7 separate regions of the Homo sapiens genome follow, and regions 1, 3, 4, 5, 6 and 7 are each linked to region 2. The links are contacts of gene promoters, found by promoter capture Hi-C in blood cells and fetal thymus (Javierre and others, 2016). All regions are on one chromosome and are shown on one strand. The core of a region is centred on a gene start or on the middle of the fragment in contact, and the rest is flanking DNA. Distances in the headings are between cores, read along the strand shown.

What was found. Contacts are between HindIII fragments. The CHiCAGO score rates a contact against its expected background, and 5 or more counts as called.
Region 1: a fragment that was not itself captured here is called in contact with the fragment with the promoter of PCDH10 in region 2 in 6 of 17 cell types (endothelial precursors, M2 macrophages, M0 macrophages and 3 more); the score reaches 30.6 in endothelial precursors.
Region 3: a fragment that was not itself captured here is called in contact with the fragment with the promoter of PCDH10 in region 2 in 4 of 17 cell types (M1 macrophages, endothelial precursors, M2 macrophages and 1 more); the score reaches 16.1 in M1 macrophages.
Region 4: a contact is called between a fragment that was not itself captured here and the fragment with the promoter of PCDH10 in region 2, in 1 of 17 cell types (M2 macrophages). The highest score is 5.7, in M2 macrophages.
Region 5: a contact is called between a fragment that was not itself captured here and the fragment with the promoter of PCDH10 in region 2, in 3 of 17 cell types (endothelial precursors, M2 macrophages and M0 macrophages). The highest score is 7.9, in endothelial precursors.
Region 6: a contact is called between a fragment that was not itself captured here and the fragment with the promoter of PCDH10 in region 2, in 1 of 17 cell types (endothelial precursors). The highest score is 7.1, in endothelial precursors.
Region 7: a fragment that was not itself captured here is called in contact with the fragment with the promoter of PCDH10 in region 2 in 1 of 17 cell types (endothelial precursors); the score reaches 7.7 in endothelial precursors.

What each region holds. Positions count from the first base shown.
Region 1 is chr4:136,857,889-136,861,177 of GRCh38, forward strand. All of the region lies in intron 3 of LINC02511 (long intergenic non-protein coding RNA 2511), which reads right to left. Among named protein-coding and RNA genes, the nearest start is that of LINC02510, 330 kb to the right of the region's middle. The HindIII fragment of the contact is 3,099 bases long and covers 242-3,289 here.
Region 2 is chr4:133,147,609-133,150,659 of GRCh38, forward strand. It overlaps PCDH10 (protocadherin 10), which reads left to right and starts at 1,686. Exons shown (of 5, transcript NM_032961.3): 1 at 1,686-3,051. The coding sequence starts at 2,533. It overlaps PCDH10-DT (PCDH10 divergent transcript), which reads right to left and starts at 1,508. Exons shown (of 9, transcript NR_125885.1): 1 at 1,421-1,508. RefSeq lists an enhancer at 1,430-1,489 and a silencer at 1,600-1,739. The HindIII fragment of the contact is 9,721 bases long and covers 1-3,051 here.
Region 3 is chr4:136,879,540-136,883,020 of GRCh38, forward strand. The region is part of intron 3 of LINC02511 (long intergenic non-protein coding RNA 2511); the gene reads right to left. Among named protein-coding and RNA genes, the nearest start is that of LINC02510, 310 kb to the right of the region's middle. The HindIII fragment of the contact is 1,202 bases long and covers 1,463-2,664 here.
Region 4 is chr4:129,371,782-129,375,235 of GRCh38, forward strand. The region is part of intron 2 of LOC105377417 (a long non-coding RNA gene); the gene reads right to left. Among named protein-coding and RNA genes, the nearest start is that of C4orf33, 280 kb to the left of the region's middle. The HindIII fragment of the contact is 1,028 bases long and covers 912-1,939 here.
Region 5 is chr4:136,901,719-136,905,107 of GRCh38, forward strand. All of the region lies in intron 3 of LINC02511 (long intergenic non-protein coding RNA 2511), which reads right to left. Among named protein-coding and RNA genes, the nearest start is that of LINC02510, 290 kb to the right of the region's middle. The HindIII fragment of the contact is 2,104 bases long and covers 585-2,688 here.
Region 6 is chr4:129,351,659-129,354,940 of GRCh38, forward strand. No RefSeq gene overlaps it. Among named protein-coding and RNA genes, the nearest start is that of C4orf33, 260 kb to the left of the region's middle. The HindIII fragment of the contact is 975 bases long and covers 1,273-2,247 here.
Region 7 is chr4:136,739,585-136,742,849 of GRCh38, forward strand. No RefSeq gene overlaps it. Among named protein-coding and RNA genes, the nearest start is that of LINC02510, 450 kb to the right of the region's middle. The HindIII fragment of the contact is 775 bases long and covers 1,578-2,352 here.

The DNA.
Region 1 (3,289 bases), core at 541-3,040, 3.7 Mb after region 2:
TATGGAACCCCCTGCAAATTTTGAGATCTCACTCTCAGCACTCCCTCATTTCCAGTAACCTGCCCTACTAAAATTTCAACCACTTAAGTTGCCTGAACTCCATTTGTCTTCAGCTCAGTGAGGCTGCTGTACTTTCATTGGAGTCCAATTTATTGTACTTTGGTGAAAAAGGTTTCCCCAGCCAGAAAGCCTAAGTGAAAGTTGTGCTAACTTTGTTTGTTCTCCTTTTCTCAAAATCACAAGCTTTCTTTAAAAAAATTTGTCTCATGTCTTTTTCTGTAATTTAATTATTCTTTAAAGTGAGAAAAGCAATTTGGTCCTAGGTAACATAACATATATGAGATAAATTTTTAATTTTCCTATTTTAAATAAACATGTCTATATTTACCACTTTCAAAATAAACATATAAGTTAAAGATTCACAATAATTTTGAAAAATAATTCTTTTTAGTAACTATCTTAAGTATTATTTATTTGCATAAAAATAAATTGGATAAATATTTTAATCAAATTACATTAATGCCTCTAGGTAGAGAGCATGTGATTTGGTTAGATTTAATCTTTAAAATGTCAGCATCCAAATATGGCATCAATTCTTACTAAATATTACGAATAATATAAACTAAATATATTTATATATATTAAATACTCAAATAGTACTCCTAACCACAAAATTAACCCAATGATGACTTCTTTTCCAAAACATTGCAATGTGTCAATATCTTTAAATTGCTTAAAAATTAATGAATGAATCTAATTGAGTATACTTCTACCAACAATATTTTTACATGTGATAGGTAAAACATTTGTCATTTTGAGCTTAGGCCAACTGGCAAGTCATTTTTATATCATATTGGCTGTTTCTAGGCATTTTTTTTTACTATTTTAACCAAGAGTGAGTCAAACTATATTGCTCAATTTATACAGTAGTAATGTGAAAATCATTATTACACATGGAAAAACTCACGAACAAGGATAATTATTTTCTAAAGTCACAGGTAGATACAGCAATATTAACAATAACTATGACTTGTAGACTAACATTTAGTATGTAAACAGAGTACTCTATTTTTAAAAAATATAATTAGAGGGCAGGCACTGCATTGCTCAGTATATTCCCAAAGCTAAGTGGCAGTTGATAAGAGTTGCATTAAAGTAAAGGTCAAATAATGATGACAAGTTTCCTCCCATTTCACTTTGCCACAGTTTGACATAAGCTGAGATTTATGCAATGTCACTAACCATCAATCAATCACCCATGCAATAACAAATAAAGAGATGAAATGGCTAAGTAAATATGTCTTTTTAAAAATACAGGTAAAGAAAAGAAATAACATCAGCTACTAGGCTCTACAAAGAGAAGAAGCAACTCAAATACTGTTTTATTTGAAGCCCTTGTATTTAAGGAAACAAAGTATGGCCTATTTTTCTTTCTCTTGGATGATACATAATTATTTTAGTCCCTAGAATAGTTTTGTTAAAATACTGCAGTATCAGTTAATTTTGTTTCTTGAGAAGACCTGAAAGAGGTTTTTGGTTTGTTTGTTTGTTTGTTTGTTTTTTATCCTTATGTAGTTCTTATCTTATTGGTAGGCTTTGAATAGCTATCCTATAAATATTATTGGTTTCATAACATTTTAGGTACTTATTTTTAATTCAATATCTTTGTTATTGAAGCAAGTCAATTTAGATGAGTTGAAGAAAATGGTAATAGTAATGATTTTAAAATTTGCTAATGGTTTTCAGCATACAGCGTACACCCAAAACACTTTTAAAAACATATGGCTTAAAATCTCTACGGGGAAAATGTTTTAATGTCTTTATTCTAAGTGAATACAGTTAAACTTAACAGAAGTAATCATTCTGGCACAAAGACAGAGATGTAGGTTGGCATGAGGACATGTGAAAAGATTAGCAGGAGATGAAAGTAGTGGAGAGACTGAAAAACACTATAACAATAGTGCATCAAATCATACCCAGTAAGAGCTACACCAACCTTTAAGGAGGAGGAATTGCAAGTTAATGTCAAAAACATAGTGTAATTTTTGTATGTATGTAAAAATTTGTATGTATGTAAAAATTTTATTTACATGTAAATAAAAATGCATAAAATGTCACAGCATAGTATATATTATTTTCTATAGTATAGATAATTTTACAAATTGTTTTTAACTTTAAAATATTTCATGTTAAAATGTATCTACTTTGTGTATTTGAAAAGACAGGTACATATGCTTGATGGATCTGTGTGCTAATTACAATCTAGTACCAGGGGCAGCATAGGAGAATACTTTGACTTTGTTTTTTTTTTAATAGAAAGTATTTTTTTAAATTACACTTTAAGTTCTAGGGTACATGTACACAACGAGCAGTTTTGTTACATATGTATACATGTGCCATGTTGGTGTGAATATCTTAACTTTTGACTGGATCCTTCTACATTTAGATACTAGAGGAAGCCCAGAGTAGGTCCCTAGAACATGCAGATGCTGATTTGTGAGATGCTGCCTTATAAGGCCCATAAACACATACTCACACCAAAATTGTTAAAAAGAGAACAGATGCTTTAAAACAACCATAACAAGAAATCAGTTTCACATTTTTAATCATTTTAATGGCACTTAAAATGTAGTGTAATGACACAAGTGATATGTAATGATACAGGCCTATACTTCACTATATTCTTTTTTTTAAATTTTCTCAAGCCCCTGTGTTTTTAAGACCCTTTTGTCACATATATTTCTAAGAAAATAATAGTTTTATTTCAACCACATAATTGGATATTCAAAAAGAAATGTGATCATTTCTACACTCAGAGTTTTATGTCCGGGTATTACACAGAAAAATGATAACAACATGTCTTGCCTTGAGAAAAAAAATGCAGAAAGCAAATCATTTTTATTTTGATGTTATTCTTGGCAAGCAATATAAAAGTATATGTGTATTTGTATTCAAACGTGAAATATACCAGAAAGAACAAAATCTGATTTCAGAAGTCTTTGATTGCTGGTCAAAAAGAATTTTTTTTAAAGGAATGTAACTAGCAGCTATTAATCACTTTCTCAAAATGTAGTGAGATTGTTCCTAGTTTTGTGCGGTTTTTTTGCATTTTCTCACAAATGTTTATCAAAATCACCCTTTAAAGAACTTTTCAGTTGTATGCCTTAATGAAAATAGCTTCCTTTTCTTATCTATTATTTTAAAAATAAAAAGCAACAAAAAACTAAATAAATTTTTCTATAATAATCTTTCTATAATAGCTCACAACTGTATTAAATAAATCAAAATA
Region 2 (3,051 bases), core at 436-2,935:
TCAGGGCAGTAGACGTGCATTCGCGGGACTCTCAGAAGCACGTCTCAGGCTACTATCACGCCCATGGACACTAGCCCTCCTTAACTCCTTGCCAGGAGGAAATGGCAACGTATCTCCAGGTCGGAAAACGACTCTACTTTTCCCGCAGGTTGTGGTGGTGTATTCTTGGGTCATTCATTACCAGAAAGCAGCAAAGGACCTTCCTATCTCTTTGCATAAAAAGGAGATTGAATAGGGGCTTCTTTCGTGAATAAACAACCAATTCCTTGCTAGTGGCCCATTAATTAAAAATATATATTTATAGATCTTTCCTTAGAGAACTGGCATTCTATCCACTCTCCAGCATTAAAGAGTTCGCGCTGTGTTTTAACTTCACAAGAACTAGCTATGTGGATGTGCCGCGTTGCCCCTGCGCCTCCGGAAGGGGCACTCACAGCTGGTCAAGCGCGTCCTTCGGAACTCGGGGAGGCTCCGTTGGGGCTTACACAGAGCTAAGCCCTGGGCCAGGGAGGATGGATGCAAGTACCGTGCATGTGCAAACGTGTTCGCAGATACCCGCAGCGGTGCACACTCGGGCCCCTCGTGTGCACGGGCCCTGCCCACCACCCCGCCCGCGTTCGCCGCCGCCCCACTGTCCTCATCCCGCGGGCTGACCCCAGGATTGGCAGAAATCAGTGGTCTAATCTAGCATGGTGGGTAAAGGGATCGATCTCCAATTGCCAAAAAAAAAATAGAAAATAGCCGGTGTTCCCAGCCGCTGCGTGGCACTTGGCCGCACAAGGCGCAGGGATATCAGAGGCGCTTTGCAGCGCTTGGCGGTGCTGTGTGCCGGATGCCCCAGAGCCCGGCGTTAGGATGGCGGGCTTGTAGGAAGCGGCTCAAATCAACTCCTCAGTCACTGATGAACGCGCTCACGGCTCGAAGCTAGGTCCTCGAGTGAGTTAATCTACTTGGTAAGTATTTTGTGAATATGTATTTTGGGAGGAAAGAAGCACGTCGAACGCGTCTGCCCGTCTGTAAGCGCTGTCATCCCCACATCCTTTAGCGTGAATTCCTCCGCTTTTTAGGAGTCACCTCCACCCCCTACTCCGTATGCTTCGCGCCTTTCCTCACGGCCCCGTCAGACCCCCTCACCTTTAGATTGACACATGCCATATAATACTCACTTTTAAAATGCCCTGCCAGTCTCTGCTAGGGTCCCTTAATTAGGTAACCCTTGCCAATTAGTGGGCCCTGCGCTACTTTTTCCCTTCTCGATGATTTATTTCCATGATGCGTATTAGGGAAAATACCTTAAAGGAAAAAGAATGTTAGCATCATTGGAAATCCCGCTCCTAGGAGAGGATATCGCAGCTGTTGCTATTATGTTTTCGCATTTGCTGATGCAAACAGGGGAACCTCTCTATTCCCTCCCCATTACCTGCGGCTGGGGACTGGGAACTTTCCGCGGCATTGTCCCCAGCCAGCGCCTCGGGACCTGCGGGGCTGTTCTCGCTCTCACACTCACACTCACCCCGGCCGCTCGGGCGAGAGTTCTGTCCCGCCCCGCCCGGCTGCCGCGTGACGTGTCTGTTTGGCGGCCAGTTTGGCCAATCATCGGCAGCTCGGTGGGTGGTGCTCCTGGGCGATTGGTTGGCAGAATGAGGGCGCTGCGCAAAAACGGAGAAGCCGAGCGCTCGGAGCTCAGAAACTGCCAGCCCAGACCACAGGCTCAGAGGCTGAAGCAGGAGGAAGGAAGGACTGGAAGGAAAAAGAGACAGGTTAGAGGGAAAGAGGCTTGGGAAGAAAACAGCAGAAAAGAAACTGCTCATTACACTTACAGAGAGGCAAGTAACGGTGGAGATGAGGACAGAGGGAACCAAGACTCTGAAAGACAAAAAATACAAATAGAGCGAAAGAGGAAAAAAATGTCAAGAAGAACATCCATCCGGAGAAATGAAGAGAATGAAAGTTTTAAGCTGCAGAGCCGTTCTGTGCTTTTCCGGCACAAAATTATATCGCTGATTTTAAGCCCTTTTGCATTTGCCAGCCGTTGACATTAAGAGGCATGTTTAACGGTGCCAACAGCATCTCCTTTTCCTTCTCCTCTTCCTCTTCTTCTTCTTCCTCCTCCTCCTCCTCTTTTTCCTCCTCCTCGTTCTCCTCCCATCAGCAAGAAGACAAACCGAGGACAGTCTTGAAATATCGAAATTTCCTCTTTGGGATTTGCCAGCGCCAAGACTGTCGGAATAAAGGACGCTGACTATTGTATTATTGTTATTTTATTAATTAGTCAGTGGAAAGATTACAGATGAGGAAAGGGGACGCCTGTCACCCTTCCTGTGCTAAGATTTAAAAAAAAATGAGGCTGGATTGCGGGAAGCTCTAAAATGAAGCAAAAGGAGTAAGATTTTTAAAGACAGAAAGCCACAGGAGCCCCCACGTAGCGCACTTTTATTTGTATTTTTTCAGATTTTTTTTTGTTTCGTGGTGGTGGGGGAGGTGATTGGGTGGCTGACTGGCTGCGGGAAGCTACTTCCTTTCCTTTTGGAGATGATTGTGCTATTATTGTTTGCCTTGCTCTGGATGGTGGAAGGAGTCTTTTCCCAGCTTCACTACACGGTACAGGAGGAGCAGGAACATGGCACTTTCGTGGGGAATATCGCTGAAGATCTGGGTCTGGACATTACAAAACTTTCGGCTCGCGGGTTTCAGACGGTGCCCAACTCAAGGACCCCTTACTTAGACCTCAACCTGGAGACAGGGGTGCTGTACGTGAACGAGAAAATAGACCGCGAACAAATCTGCAAACAGAGCCCCTCCTGTGTCCTGCACCTGGAGGTCTTTCTGGAGAACCCCCTGGAGCTGTTCCAGGTGGAGATCGAGGTGCTGGACATTAATGACAACCCCCCCTCTTTCCCGGAGCCAGACCTGACGGTGGAAATCTCTGAGAGCGCCACGCCAGGCACTCGCTTCCCCTTGGAGAGCGCATTCGACCCAGACGTGGGCACCAACTCCTTGCGCGACTACGAGATCACCCCCAACAGCTACTTCTCCCTGGACGTGCAGACC
Region 3 (3,481 bases), core at 814-3,313, 3.7 Mb after region 2:
ATCCTGAGATTTACATGGGAAGACAAAAAACCTAGAAAGGCTAAAACATATTTTTATATATGTGAACTAAATGAGAGGAATAACTGTTATCTGATAATAGGTCCTATTGGAATCTGAATGAAGACTGTGGTATTAGTGGAAAGAGGATCACATAGATCAATGAAACAGGATAGAGAGAACTGGAATAAAAACCAACAAATATGTGCCTAGCGGAGGTGAACAAAAATGGAAAGGCAATTCAGTGGGAGAGGTATAGTCTTTTCAACGAACGGTGTTAAAGCATTTGAAGATTCACAGGCAAAAAAACAAAAAAAACAAAAAAAAACCTTGAACCTAAATATCACACATTATTACAAAACTCGACTAAAATGAATTATGAATTCAAATTGAAAACCTGAAATTGTAAAATGTTTACAAAAATGCATAGGAGAAACTCTTTGGGACTTAGAGATAGGTGAAAAGGTCTTAGACTTGTCTAAGTCTGTAAAAGAAAAATTTGATAATTAGATTTCACAAGAATTAAAAACTTTTTCTCTGTGAATGACCCTGTGGAGAGGGTAAAAATGAGCTACGGACAGAAGAAAACAAAACAGAAACACCTCGATAGCCACATATCCAAAATAAGAATTGTATTTAGAATATGTAAAGATATCTAGTCAACAAAAACAACAAAATGATTCAATGAGAAAACAGGCAAAAGATAAAACAGATATTTTAACTGAAGGGGGTATAGAGATAGCAGATAAACACATGAAAATATATGAACATTGTTACTCATCAGAAAAATGCAAATTAAAATGATACTAATATTTACTTCACACCTATTAAAATGGTTGAAATATAAAATAGTGATTGCATCAGATGCTATCTAGGATGTGGAAGGCCTAGAGCTGTGATACACTGTTGGTTGGAGTGTAAAGTAAAGACAGCCATTCCCAAAATTATATGTAACAGTTAAAAAATGTCCACATACCATATGACAAATCAATTGTATTCTTGATCATTCTTCCAAGAGAAATGAAAACATGCTCACCTGAAAATCTGTACACCAATGTTCACTGCAGCTTTAAGTTTAATACTCCAAATACAGAAACAACAAATATGTCATTCAATGGATAAATACGTTAAATACACTGTAGTCCATCCATACTACGGAATATTAGTCTCAAAAAGGAAAATTTGAATGGATTTTAAGGAAACTATTCTGAGCGAAAAAATAGTCTCCAAAGGTTGTATATGATTGCATTTATATAACAATCTTAAAATTATAGAGATAGAGAAGAGATTAGTGATTGTCAAGTGTTAGAGGCAGAGTAAGGGAGGAGGATAGCTGTCACTATAAAAGAGTAACAAGCAGAAGCCCTGTGATAGAACTATCCTGTGTCTTGACTGTGGTGATGGTCACACAAATGTAAGATAAAATGTTTTAGCACTAAATATACACACTGGTGAATTCTGAATAAGCTTTAGTGACTGTAGCCATGCCAATTTCCTGCTTGTGATATTACTGTGTACTATAGTTATACAAGATGTCACAATGGGGAAAACTGGGTGAACTGGGTGATGGTTATACAGAATTTCTCTAACTTACTTCTTCAAACTACATGTTAATTATAATTACCTAAAATAAAAAGTAAAATAGTATCTTTAACAATAATTAGAACTTAGCGAGCATAAACATAACAGCTGTTTACCACACAAGTGCAGTGCTAAGCTCTTAAAAATATCATAATTTTTTATTGTTGCAAGAGCTGTATGACACAGGCACATGCTATCAAAATCTAATTTACAAATAAAAACATTGGTGTTTTGAAAGATAATAAAATTTGCCTAAGAGGATATAGCTTAAGAGTAAGAAAGGAGGAATGTAAACTCATGTTAAGAGGACAGAGAGGTCCTTGACTATAACACCTTTCTGTTTTTTTTAAAAAAGCAAGTTTATTATCTTATATGTCCTTTATATTTATACTTGGCATAATTGTGGCACTAACTCTATAAATATTTATAAGTAAGTGAATGCAGTCATTAAACCATCAAATTTTATTCTCTGAAAGCATGGACGTAATGGTGTAAGGGGAAGAATAAACTCTCAATTCCGTCAAGTCATGTAATTTGGAAAACTAAATGCAAATCTCAGCTTCAGTTTCATGATTTCCTGACTAGAGAAATGGATGCTTCATATATCTTTTAAATTCTATCTCTCAAATATCAGATGTCTCAAGCAAGTTTTTGGCATCACAGTTAATTTATGATTGACATTTTTAATGAGTGTCTGAAATGCCAATATTTTGTGTTGTTGATAAAACGATCCATATGTTTTACATTTCACACACTCAGGCAGCTGAATTGACATTCTGTTGTGAAATGTTAAGTTCCTGATATGATTTCACATCCAGGCAGTAGGCTAACCCATTTCCATAAGGAACTTAGAATATGTTCAAGATTTCATTCCTGTTTTCATCTGAGACTTGGCGTTTTTAAGTACCTAGAATGTGCAAAGACAAATGCTGCAAATAGGTTGATCTTTATCAAGAATTGCAAATGCTATGTAGAAGAATTAACATTACTTGATAGTACGGGAGACTGAGCCAGTAATATCATATTGGAGAGCTTAGGAGATCTTCAGTCACTGGCACTTTAATAGGGACTTGTTGCTTGAGTGTAAGCTTTCCAGGCAAGAACTGTCAGCTTCAGGAGGGCAGGAAGTCGGTGTGTTTCCTTCATCAAACTATTTCGAACATTTAAAACAGTGCTTGGCATATAGTGAGAGGCACTTTATCAACAAAGCAGTTGAAAAATAATCTGGCAGATTTAATAGGCAAGCACATCTAAATTTTTTTATCTAATTATCATATGCCAATCCCTATTGCTGTGTTTATTTGAACTGTATCCCAATTAGCTTGGAATTAATATTCATACATTGTCTTCTCTCATTCTTAAACTTTGACTCAAATGCCTGAATATAGTATTTCAGATTTTTTTTCAACTTCCTTTTCAAACTCTCTTAATAATACCATAACTCCATTTCCTAGAATTTTCTAATTTATCTTTTGCTTTAAACATAGCAGAAGATAAAAAAATAATTTTTCTCAAGATGTCTTTTAAGATTGAGAGCACAAAAAATCACCTGTGCTTCTCCCATTCAAAATTTAATTCTATATTTTTCCTTCTTTAGAATAGCACAGATTAACACATTTCCCCCTTAGTAATCAACTTAAATTTGAAAAAAGATAATTTGCCAAAATTTAACACCGGAACATATTTTTTTTAAAACACACACAAAAAATAATTTTTTAAAATAGAAACACTATTTTCAAATTTGAAAAGGTATCTCTTACAGGAAACTCTTCCTGTCATATAGGAAATTAGCACTAATTTCCTATATGACAGGTCTTTCTGTCCTGCAAATGGACCAGACACAAATCAATAATGTCCATTAGTGGCATTGTCTTCCAAGTTTTGCTATACATGATCCATCGCT
Region 4 (3,454 bases), core at 176-2,675, 3.8 Mb before region 2:
AATAACATGTCAGGGAGACTCATCTGGTGTTTGTGTGTAGGAGAGGAGATGGGAGGTGAGGAGGTGAGGGGGCAGGTGGGATGAGAGAGATGAGGCTGGTCGTACTAAGGTGCTGCCCATATGGCTCAATCTTTCTGACACATGTACAGGACAGTGCACCGTGTAAAAAATAATGATTATTTACACTTACAGGATAAGAATATTCACAAAAGATTCACTGCTTTATAAAAGGCTTAAACATAAAATTCCTTTAAGAACAGTAAGCACTTCTGGTGAGCACAAAATTATTTTTCTTCAACTTTTGTAAAACTCTTTCAGAAACATAACTAGTGAGTGATGCAAAGCACATCTGTATCCAATTATGTTAGAGCACCAATATATTTCTGGTTTATAAAGAAGAGTATCCAGAACAGAAGCTCTTGCACTATTTCACTCAGATTTTAAGGCGTCCTCAGAGTCCTACTCTTTAGTAATCTCAAAAGTACATATTCTAAGCTGCATAGCGATAGACAAGACAGTATGAAAACTTTCTAAAAACTTACATATTTCTCCTTAAAAACTGCTGCAATGACTTCTTAACTTCCTTGAGATATAGGCGATTCACAAGCCCACTCAGCCATCTGTTTTGCTTGATTTCAGACCATTTCCATCTTTTCCAGAGACACAAAGGCAAATAATGTATGTGTATCTATGTGCATGTGCTTGCTTGAGTGAGGGTGTGTGCACGCACACGCGCGCACACACACACACACACACAAGTTTGGATTGTGTTCTCCATATCAAGTTTTTGAAACTGTTCTTTTCTTGGGGCAGTATATAACCAGTTATTTAGCAATAATGTTTGCCTAGAGTTATTTGTTTTGAAACACAGAATCTTTTTAAACCTTGTTTCTCTTTTAACAGCAAAAAGAAGCTTGAGTGATTATAGCAAACTTTCAAAGTCAATGCCACTAAGTGTCCTTTTTATGGTAGCAGAATTAGTTTTTATTTTCATACAGTATTCAGGAGGTATGAAAGCAGATGAACCTAGGAATGCCACAGCTGACAGTGATTCCACCCACAACAATTGAGAAGAGCACAAATAACCTCTCCCCTATAGGGACTATGTACGCCCTGATTCTTTTTGCTATGGTTTAAAGTCTAAAGGAGAATTGTCAAACAAATAATAATACTAGGTAACTTTATTTATTTATTTATTATTTATTTATTTATTTATTTTGAGACGGAGTCTCACTCTGTTGCCAGGCTGGAGTGCAGTGGCGTGATCTCGGCTCACTGCAACCTCCGCCTCCCAGGTTCAAGTGATTTTCCTGCCTCAGCCTCCTGAGTAGCTGGGACTACAGGTGCATGCCACCATGCCCAGCTAAGTTTTGTATATTTAGTAGAGACAGGGTTTCACCATGTTGGCCAGGATGGTCTCAATCTCTTGACCTCACGATCTGCCCGCCTGGGCCTCCCTAAGTGCTGGGACTACAGGCGTGAGCCACCACTCCTGGCCAATACTAGGTAATATTTATTGAACACTTATTAAGTGCTGAGTCCTGTTCTAAGTACTTTGTATGTATCAATTGGTTGAATCCTACAACTACCTGTATGATGTAGATACTATTGCTATGCCCTTTTACAGATGAGGAAATTGAAGCACAGAGGAATTGAACAACTTGCCCAAAGTTACAGAGCTGGGAGAGTTGTGGTTTGAACTCAGACAGTTTGACCCCAGACCCTGCCCTGGAACCAGTTGCTCTGAGAACCAATTGTTTACCTCCTTTTTATTCCTTCCAAAATTCCATGGCATTATGCTTTTTTGGAGGAGTAGAACTAGAAAGAAGGAAGCCATTGTAAGTGAGTAGAATGCTCATATATGCTATCCTGTTTTATTATTTAATCTTTATAACAACTCTTCAAGGTAGATATTATTCGTGTGGGTTACAGATGAAGAAGCTTGCCCTATAGTTTGTAAGTGGCACCAAGATTTGAACCTGAAACTAACAAATGACATTTGTTCAGTGTCAACTGTGTGCTGGATGTTTTATATCCATTTTCTCTTTGATCTTTACAATGATCTTGTAAGGAAGGTGTCTTTGGGAGTCATAAGAATGAGGTAAGTAAAGAAAGTCTTGAATGGGTTTCAGTCTGTGGAAAGCAGGCTAGCTCTAGATTGCTGTGCTATACTGCAAGAAGCATCTGTCCATGTGATGAGTAGGAAATAGATGTATCCATCACATTTCACTTACTTTCATTAGGAGATAGTGAGACTGTGAGAAAAAGAGCACTGGATGAGAGTCATATATTGGTGGGAAGCTGACTGAAATCAGGGAAAATACCTCACTGGGAAGTAAACATCATACATTTGGTTGAGATGTTTCTTGCTGTGCAGAAGATGATTCCCATTGACACATCTGGAGCTGAATGCTTGATCTTGAGGTAGAAACCATTGGTTTTCCAGTGAGTCCCTTCATACGTCTAGGTCAGCTTGTCCCTTGTTTGAGACAGGTGGGAGCTTCCCATGAACTGCTCCCACGATGTCTAGTTAGTATTCATGACTATATCATTTTCTAAGATTTTGGGTCATAGGTTTCTCCTATGTTTCAATTACCCTAGGACCCATAAGTGTACAGCTGTTAAAAAAAAAAAAGTTCCTGGTGTCAGTGACAGGTACAACTCTCATTTTCCAGATGACAATCTGAAACTTGAGAGGTTTAGGTCCAGGATTAGACAATAAATGTCAAAGCTAGGGTTGAAGTCAGATGTACTGACTACAAAGACACATATATTGGAATATAACAACATGCTGTCTTGCTTGTAGAATTGTTCACCTCTTTTGCTTGTATAATTTTTATTTCAGCAGTTTCTTCTGTTATTCAAACTATGTGAAGCTATTCCAGCAAGCTTATGTAATAGAGAATAGCATAAAATGTTTGCCAGTAATCTTTTGGTAATCTTAGTTTTCCATTTGACATTAAAAATCTGAGATTTCTCCTTTCCATGCTCATGCCACTGGTCCTTAAATTACTACAGAATTTTTCTAAACGTTTTCCGGGCCTCAACTTTCTTTCCTTTCCAGAAAATTGTCAAAAAAAAAAACATAGATAAGGTTACTAAAACATAGATAAGATCACAAAAACCTGTAGTAGCTCACCACTGCTGATAGCAATTGTTCCTGGCTTCCCTGCCTGTGAGTCTCAGCTTTAGAGCATTTTAAATATCCAGGTGCTCATGTTTCACCCTAGACGGCTACTCCTAATTTGGTCACTGAGCAGATAGATTATGTATGTTTACATAATTGTTTAATTATAAAGAATTACATGTACAAGATAATAATGTAGGATATTTTCTTGACCCCTTCATGGGTCTTGCAACAGGGGTGCCTCATTTACTCAGCCTGCCCTGCTCAGACCCTCACAGAAGGGAGCATGTGAGTGAACAAGTCCAGGAACTGGAGAGATCAAGTGCA
Region 5 (3,389 bases), core at 387-2,886, 3.8 Mb after region 2:
CTTAGAATTACTTGACATTCCTTCCCCTGTCTTCTCCCTTTCATTTTCTCTCTTTCTGTCCCAGCATTGGCAGGACAGTCTTTTCTGGGATCCACAAGGTTTTATCTCAGGGAGTGGCAGACGTAGAACTGGCAAGAATTGACTAACTGGGACGACTTTATTAAAATTCCCTAGTACAAATTGAGAGATCAGGGACAATATAACAACAAAGGAAGGGATGTTCCGTAATGTTGGACGGCAAAAATTGCCAGAGGTCCGGTTGTCCTGACATTAAGAATCTCAAAGTAAAGTTAATTGTCCTTTACTTCTCCTCAAAGTGTCCTGAAATTAGGAAACTGCTTCACTTTTCTTTGGAAAGTACCCTTTGCATCTGATCAAAGTTTCTCTTTTTTCCTAGACCAAACTAAAATTAGAACAAAAACTCAACAATTTTTCTAACACATATGTACCCAAAAACTTACACTGTCCTTTCAGGTTTCCTCAAGGTTGTTTTATTTAGACAAAGAAGGAGGAAAAGAAAGAAAAACACATATCCTGGCTGATGACCATCAGTATTTGAACATTAAAACTTTTTCTCTCAAAGAAGCTTTTATTAACTCAACCATCATTACACTTGGTTCTTTCTCTCTTCCACAAAAAAGTTAAATGTTTTGAAATACACTAATAAGTCATCTCTCCTTTTTATCCTTAAGTTATTACTATCAGTTTTCTGCCCCCATAATTTCTCTGAGCCGGAAATATCCAGAATCATTGAACAAATTCACCCTAAATTACCTGAATATTTTCTTCCCTTTCTCTTTGCATACAAGTGCCATTTTAGTAGCATTTGTTTCTTTTGCTCCCTTATTCCATCTTAAAGTATAATTTTACTTCTATAAAGCTACAAAACTATATTTCACACCACACAACTATCTTGCTTGCTAAATATATAGGTTGAATTGCCTATTTGACATGTACCCTTGAGTCATAGACATATCACACTCGATGTTTGATCATTTAAATGCATTATGTCTCAAACCTGCCTCTTTTCCAGTGATCCCTCTTTTGTTTTTACATTTTTTTGTAGAGATGAGGCCTCACTGTGTTACCCAGGCTTGTCTCAAACTATTGGCCTCAAATGATCTTGCTGCCTCAGTCTCCCAAAGTGCTGGGATTACTGGTGTGTGCCACCACTCCCAGCCTGATCTCTCTTTAAGTGAATGATATTAATGTTTACCCAGTTGCCTTACGTGGGAGACAAACGTCTGATTATAGCACTTCTCTGTTTGCAACTTTTCAAAGGCTTCCCTTTCCTTTAAGGAGAAAGTCTATACTCTGAAACCTGACTTACATGTCCCCTCATGGTTTGGTTCCTGTTTTCCTTTCCAACTTTGGCTCTCAAGCTAGTATAATTTTCCCTCCATAATCCAGTAACTATCACTGAAATTATTTCCATTCCTTAAGAGCCCCGTGTTTTGTTGTCATATCTAAATTTTAAAATATGCATTTCCCTGCGACTGTAAGATATATTTCCACTCTGCGTTATAAGTATGGTGCAGATGGTGGAAGACATGTCTGCTTACCGTTATATTCCCACCCTCAAGATGGTGCATGGCATTGAGTAGACAGTAGAAGATGGCACAATAACACTCAGCCTTGTTATCAGTTATTCTGTTCTGGATATTTTGACCCTATAAATGTTATTGTTGTGGTTGTTGTTATTATAACTTGTTTATTTGTTTGTTTTGAGGCAGACTGGTACGTCTTTTAATGTGCATTTATAGGGTACTAAAGCAATTTGAAGAAAAGCAAGTATACTATTTATCACAACCATGTTCTGAACAGTCTCTGAATTTTGATAAAAAGCTACAGCCATTTATTTTTAGGGACAGAGTCCCAGCCAGAAGCCCTTATTTTCCTCACTGTATGAGAGTCACACTTGCAGTGAGAGCTATGGGGAAGGCCAGTTAGCCATGGGTGTCACCACATGGGAAAAACTGATCTTTTAAATATGAGTGAAGTATATAAGTTATTTATAACTAATTCATGATATACCTGGGCAGAAAAGTTGTGTTTTCAATGGTTTTATTAACGTTGCAAACAATTTATCATTTTTCTTTTTTTCTTTTTTTTTTTTTGACTGGGAGTTTTGCTCTTGTCACCCAGGTGGGAGGGCAATCGCGCGATCTTGGCTCACTGTAACCTCCACCACCTGGGTTTAAGTGATTCTCCTGCCTCAGCCTCCTGGGTAGTGGGGATTACAGGCGCCTGCCACCATGCCCAGCTAATTTTTGTAGTTTTAGTAGAGACGGGGTTTCTCCATGTTGGTCAGGCTGGTCTCAAATTCCCGACCTCAGGTGATCCGCCCACGTTGGCCTCCCAAAGTGTTGGGATTACAGGTGTGAGGCACCATGCCCAGCCAATTTATCATTTTTCTCTCCATTTGCCATACTTTTTTCTTGTTTTTGTTTATCAATTTAGTTCTAAGACTATGGACACTTAGAGTCAGAACAAATAAAATAACATTATTTTAACTTTCATATCTCTACCTTTAAATTGGTGTTACTAGTGATTTGAATTTGTTAATTTGCTTTACTTTGTAATATTCATTACTTACTGGATGCTTCTGAATTTTAACAAAAAGTACTCTATATTTACAAAGGTAATAACCGTCCTACACAACATTTTCATTAGTTCAGGCTGTTGGGAAGCTTGAAGACTTCAGTGTAAGCAACATATGCAATATGTTCTAATTTTTCCACATGAAGTAGTAGTATAGACTTACAGAAGTTACTCAGACACCGTGAAAATGATATATGTTCTACAAATGCATTAATACTACTACTGATTCTAGAAAATAGCCCCAGTGTTCATCTATAGTATTCTACAGCTGGAATTAAAAGAAATAATAATAATAATAAGATATGTGAAGATAATTTAACACGATGTGTGCAATTCAATTAAAACCCAAAACATTTCTTCAAGCTTTTGCAGATTTATTTCTATTACTCTTAGATTTTAAAACTAAATTCCAATAGCTAGATGATTCTGTTAGCACCACCGAGCCTATCAACGTGACAAAATATCTTAAAGAGATACTAACACGCATGCATCATTAGCCATTAAAAATTCTCCCTCAGTTATTGGAACAGATGGTAGGAATAGCACATCTTGGAAACTACTTGGCTAATAGGAATATAAACCATCCAGAATAAATAAAACTACAAATTAATGTACTTTCCTTCAAATCTTGCTGAAAATATGTTCAAAAAATGTAAAAGAAAAGTAGAGATTGAAAAATAAAAATCAAGTGTATATTTTTATCACAAGACAAAACAAGAAACCGAATGTGATCCAGGAAATATATAGAAGATTGATTGCAGAAATGAGGGCATATAATCTACATAAAA
Region 6 (3,282 bases), core at 510-3,009, 3.8 Mb before region 2:
GACAAGATGACCATTTCATCCCTTTCTTCTAACTACAGATTTCCAGGATCATGTATTGCATCTGCCTAACAAACTGTGCCTGTAATGCCATTTCTCAAGAATTCATACTGTGGATTTCTGTGGGGATGTTGACTACCTTATTTATTTTGTGAGACCAGGGCTTTTGTCTTTAAATGGTAACAGAATGATTTCTGTGTAGTTTTTATGAAGTTAGAAGTCAGTAGATAGAGCAACTTTCTGCTAATAGCCTCTTACATTGAATGCTTGCCGTTGACAGTATTTTTATGATAATTTTTGTCATCTCTTTAACAGTCTGTAGTATAGGAATCACAGTGTATATTTTAAAAATGAGGGTGCAGAGCCTTTGCATGGCTGAATCTAGGTGTTAACCCAGGCATCCTAAACCTAGCCCAGTTCTCTACCCACTGCAGAGGGAGAGGAGAGGTAAATGATTTTCCAAGGACAGCAATAAGAAATAGGAAATCAAAATAGAATTTATGATTGCTATATTTTAATCCAGCACTCTTGTTCCTTCCTCTAGCTTCTGTGATGTTAGTCTGAAGAGACTCTTACCTTTTTGTTTTGTTTATTATATGGCATCTGAAACAACACTCTGGACAGTCAGCAAAGGTTTGAGGTCTTATTCTGTTCTACAATTCAAACAATGAATTTTTTTTTTTTTTTTTTTTTTTTTTTTTTTTTTTTTGCCACAGAGGCCTTTGAAAATCTTACACGTGTGGACAAAGCCTTGAGCATCTAGAGAAATCTGCCCAAGTATGAGGAATATTTGAAAGAGCATTTCTGAATAGCAGTCTTTACCCTTGATTTCTATTATACTTCATCTGTGCATTTTGAAATGCATTCCTAGCTTGGTTTTATTAATCCTACCACCTCTGTGACAAGAAAAGGAGCTGTTGTTTATCTCCATTCTACAGATGTACAGACTGAGTGACGGGCTGTGCCTAGGGAAGCTCTTAGGCTTTCTGACTTGCAGTATCTAATAATGAGAGCTTGTTCCTCTTGTGCCCTTTTGCTCGATGTTATTTTCAATTTGCTTTCTTATGTGGAGAGGGCATTTTCATCTTTTATGATAGTTTCGAGTTTCATTTGCACCATCAAACCTGTAAATTCTTTTGTTCTTTAGAAAGCCTGGTCAGGGTGACATCTGTCTCTTTTTTTTGGGAGGGAATGATAATCTAATAGATAGGAAGATCTGCACGAAAATGAATCATTTTCTTTGCTTTAACTCTGCTTAGTTTATCATACGCTAAAAGCTTAGATTTAGATTTAAAAGGACTGGCTATAATACCTATGATAGTGCCATTTAAAAGTATAATACCATATGCAACTGACTTTTATTTCCTAGTGCTGCTCATCAATATATAAATATAGATTTACCAATCTTAGAAAATTAATTGGAAATCAGAAAACATATTGACTACGTTTTTTTTTTTTAAACTATGTCCAGGGAAACTAAGAATGACTTCATTCTGCATGTGCAAAGGTACAGGTAATTGGCATTACAGACTCATTCTTGCTGGACGTTGTGCTATGGAATTTTTGTCTATGTTGATTTTTTAAAAACAAAAGATAATCACAGCTTAGCCAGAGCTATGTGATGTGCTTGTTGACCCAGCTAGCAAAGAGTTTTGGACCTTGTTTTGCACCTTGTTCAATACATGCATGCTGAGTGGATAAATGAATGAATAAATGAATGAGTGAACGAGTACATAAACTGAATTAGACAAAGAAAGCTAATAGAAAGAAACTGGACATTAGAGGGCAATTCATGCAATACTTTGTAGCTCAATAGGGAGAGCCACCAAGACTATATTAATTGACCTAAGGAAAGAAAGGTAGGTGGGAAAGGCCACAAATTTAGAGGTGATGTGTAAGAGTAATTTTTCAATGAGGAAATATAATTTAGGGAAATAGCAAAGGCATTGAGCCTCACAGTCCAGGTACAACTCTCATAGATTCACTTATTTAATAAACAAGTATGTATTGACTGTCTATTCTGTGCCAGGTGTGGCGCTAGAGATTGGGGCTACCAAGGTCAGTCAAGTAGTAACTTCTGTCCTTAAGCTCAATTCATGTGGGAAAAACAGACTTGAAACCAAGTGGTACCAATGTAATATGGTTATTGATAGAGTAGAAATTTCTAAGATTCATCAAAATATGTAGAAAGGGTGTGATCAATTTTTCTTGTCAGAGTTAGAGAAAGATTCACAGAGAAAGGAACAGCAAAGCTTTTTGTTTTGTTTTTGTTTCATTTTCAAATGAAACAAAACCTGCCATGAGGATGCCTAATGGGCAATCCATGGATGACGTCTTTTACCCTCACACCTCTGCTATCCCTACTTCATAAATAAGACAATTGAGGCCCCCAGAAGCCAAATGAAGTGTGCAAGTTTACCCAGCGAATGTGCCCATCAAACCCAGTTCTGTATGCCTGCACAGCTCCTGCTCCTGCCATTATGTCACACAGGGTCTCCAGGAGAGAATAGGAATTCATCAGGCAGATAAGCAGCAGGAAGGGGAAAGTCTAGGCATTGGGAATGATGACTCAATGTGAGGGAGATGCTCAAGAGATGGAACATCAAGGGAATTATGAGCTACTCCTTCTATTAGAAGGTAGGATCGCTACTGTGTGTATTGTTGTCCTAGAAGCACTGTAGTTAATAAGGGGATTTAAATGTCCCTTCCAGCCTTGAAGTTTTATAATCATTAAGAAATTATCACTGATCTCAAGGGGCTTATTCTTCATTAATCTGCCAAATATTATTGACACCTACTATTTGCTGGGCACTATCCTAGGTACTGGTGATACATTAGTAAGCAACATAGTAAAAGCCCCTGCTCATATGGAGCGCTCATATAGTGAGAAATTAGATGCCAAACAAAAAAATGAGCAGTGCCAGACAGTGACCATCACTATGAAGCAGAAAAGCAAAGTAAGAGGAAAAGAACAATGGTGTGGCTGACATTTGAAGTCATGGGTGGCCTCTACAATATGTTAATATTTGAGCAGTATTATCTAATAGAGGAGCTCAGACATGTATCTAAGCAGTCACAGAATGAGATAGTATGTGATGAATCCTGGGGGAAAAACATTTAAAGAAAGAAGTGGCCATTTATTGACTACTGCTCACACGCTGGACAACACTTACAATATTCCTGAAAGGTGCCATCTGTCCTAGATGAAAAAACTGAGACCCAGAAAGGGTAAGTAACTTTTCTAATGGCACACAGACTGAATTCAAACTCAAATTTGTCTGAATC
Region 7 (3,265 bases), core at 715-3,214, 3.6 Mb after region 2:
AGAGACAGAGCTTATAGTATATGGATATGGATATATGTATGTATATGAGAAGATTTATGTATGTATGTATATGAGAAGGTATAATTCAGTCTGAGTGTGAAGGCCTGAGAACCTGGAGTGCCAATGTCCAAGGACAGGAAAAGATTCATGCCCCAGTTCAAACAGAAGCAAATTTGTCCTTCCTCTATCTTTTTTTTTTTTTTTTTGAAACAGAGTCTCACTCTGTCCCCCAGGGCTGGAATGAAATGGTGCAGTCTTGGCTTTCTTCCCTCATTCAAGTGATTCTTGTGCCTCAGCCTCCCGAATAGCTGGGACTACAGGCGCACACCACCACGCTTGGCTAGTTTTTGTATTTTTAGTAGAGATGGGGTTTCACTATGTTGGCCAGGCTGTTCTCAAACTCCTGACCTCGTGATCTGCCCACTTCGGCCTCCCAAAGTGCTGGGATTACAGGTGTGAGCCACTGCACCTAGCCTTCCTCTGCCTTTTTATTGCACCAACCTAACATTCAGACCCTCAAGGGATTGGATGATGCCCCCTTGCATTGTGGTGGGAGGATCTGCTTTACTTAGTCCAACATAAACCCATCTCTTCCAGAAACAGCCTTACAAACATGCTCAGAAATAATGTTTAAGCAGCTGTTTCGGCATATCCTGGACCACTGAAGTAGATACATAAAGTTAACCATCACACTAGTTAAGAATCTGATGTAACCATTATCTATTTATATGATAAATTCAAAGCTTATTCCTACAACCAATAGTGTAGAGACTTTTAAAAATGTACTTGTTTTGTTGTTTTATCAGATTTCTGGCAATTGCATTGTGTTGTATGTTACTGTCGACTTTCGGGTTATTTAGAGGGCTGCAACTTGTCCAGAGAAAGATGAAAATAGCAATGAAGTCAGAAATTTGTAGTGTCACTATTTTATACTAACAAGGAGTGTATTGTCTGGGTAAATACAAATTGGAAAAGAAACAATTCTCTTTGTTGAAAATACGGGAAGAGACATCCATCCCCTCCCTTTCTTAGGGCATTTACTTTAGAAAACTTGCAGATGGAAATTTTTGTTTGTGTCTTTAAAAATGTGTGTAAATCTTTTTAAATGTCAAATAAGCCTCTTGCCTGGTGAAAGGCTCGGGAATGTCTTACTCTATGACCTGGGGACCATCTCATTGAAATGTCTTCATCATCAAAGAACATAGTGCCCATCTCCCAATTTCTGTGGGTGGGTGGAAACCTAGCTTCAGAAGGTATTTAGCTTAAAATTGCAAAACTATCTTATGTTATAAAGATATGATAATTTATTTTTCCTTTGGATAATACACAGAACATCATTCCAAGTATCCAGTGAATTTAGGATGAACTATGTGTAACAAATAGTGCTGTCAAGTCCTATCTAGCACTTGAAGACTAGTTATTATTTATCTTGAGAACATGTACATAATGGATTGTATCTGCTTGGCTATATAAAATAATGAGATTTATTTCTGTTTTGCGATATCTTAGCACACCTACAATCTGGTTTAATGCTTATTCAATAATACAACTGTGTTCTTTCTTTTATGTTGTAGAGAAGCTTCCCAGGTTGGGAGGAGATTTTGTTTTTAATTATTTATCACCAACATATAGTGTCATATTTTCATTTGCCTCAACTAATCATGAATACCTGAAAGGCAAAGTCCATATTTTGCTTATATTTTTTATACTCATGCCTCGTACTCAATAGATATTCAATTAAGATAGGTTTAATCCTGTTGTGTTCAGGAGATATATCAAATGTATGTATGATGAGAAACATTTGAAATACTGTAGAATAGAAAAGAGCTTCTAGACCTTCAAAAACAGCTATATGTTATCTCCAATCTACTCTCATACCAGCTTTTCTTTCTCTCCTCACATATACCATTTTCCTCAAGAATTTCTGAAATATTTATTTGTAATTGCTAAAATCTTCATTTTTCATGGCTCTGTACATTTATATGTATGCCTGCTTCCCTTCCCCCTATCTCAGGAATGCCTCTCCACAAACAGTTCCTGGGCCTGACACACTGATTGCTGTGTTTGTATCTAGAGAAGAGAAAGGATGACTAAGGGAAGTGAGTAAGGGGTAGATTTACTTTTGAAATGTACTTGCGTATCTTTTAAATTTTGTTCATGTATGCATTCACTACTTAAAAACAGATATGATAATTATATTTTGATAGGAAAAAATACAAAGTCACTTCCTTTAGGAAATGTCCTATTACCCTTCGTTGGCTAGGCTATTGGCCATGTTACCTAGAGAATAGGCTTGTTTCTCCCTGCACACAGAAGCCAATACCATGGCATGGGGTCTTTTAAGAAAAGAAAAGCTTTAAAGGAAAACCTGCCAGCAAGGAGAGGGGAGTGGGCTGAAATCTGTCTCCCTAACTTTGGGTCTGGGGAAAGTTGATGATTTAGAGGGCAAGGGAAAGGATTTAGGAATTTTGACTTGGCACAGTCTGGTTCAAGAGCTTCAAATTTGGCCGTTTAAAGTATGTAGAGGTAAATTTTAGCTCCACATCTTCTAGGTTAAGGGTTTCCTTGTGACTGAAAGAGTTCTGGTGTTCAGGTTCTGGTCATATTCCAGTCTTCTTGGTTCCAAGGGAAGGATTCCTTGATTCCAGGTGTTTTTAGAGGTCAAAGGTTTTTCTATTGCACTTGCCCAGGCAACAGGACTTGCAGTTTTTGTCTCTGTTACCTTTTACTGGGAAGTGTGGGGATTCTCAGTTCTTCTCTAACTTGAAAGAAAGAATTCAGCCAAGAGATGTATAGTTTATTGAAGGGAGATAAAGTACATTTTTAGAGTGGCAAACAGCTCTGGCTGGGCTGATCCTGCTGAAAAACAGCTCGTGGCTGTTTCTGCTGGAAAAATGATAGTAGCAGGGTTCGTTTAAAGAGACAGTACATTCTGAAAGATAAAACAGAGTCTAATGCTTGAAAGAATGAGTCAGCAGAAGCTAGTGCTGAAGGATTCTTTTTATGAGAATCTTACATGATTATTCATAAAGGGGCATGAGGGGGTGTTCCTTGCAAGCATGTTTTGGGAGGTCCCTTTGGGCATGTATGCTCTGTGGTCCTATATGCTAGTGCAAGTAAACATGTCACGTATCTTATTAGTATTTAAAATCTCCTGGACAGAGATTTTTAATACTAGTAAATAGTATTCATTTAGTCAATACTGTTTTTACTATTATAACGAGAAAAATGTTACTCTAGGGTCCATGCTCATCAGCAGGGAAAA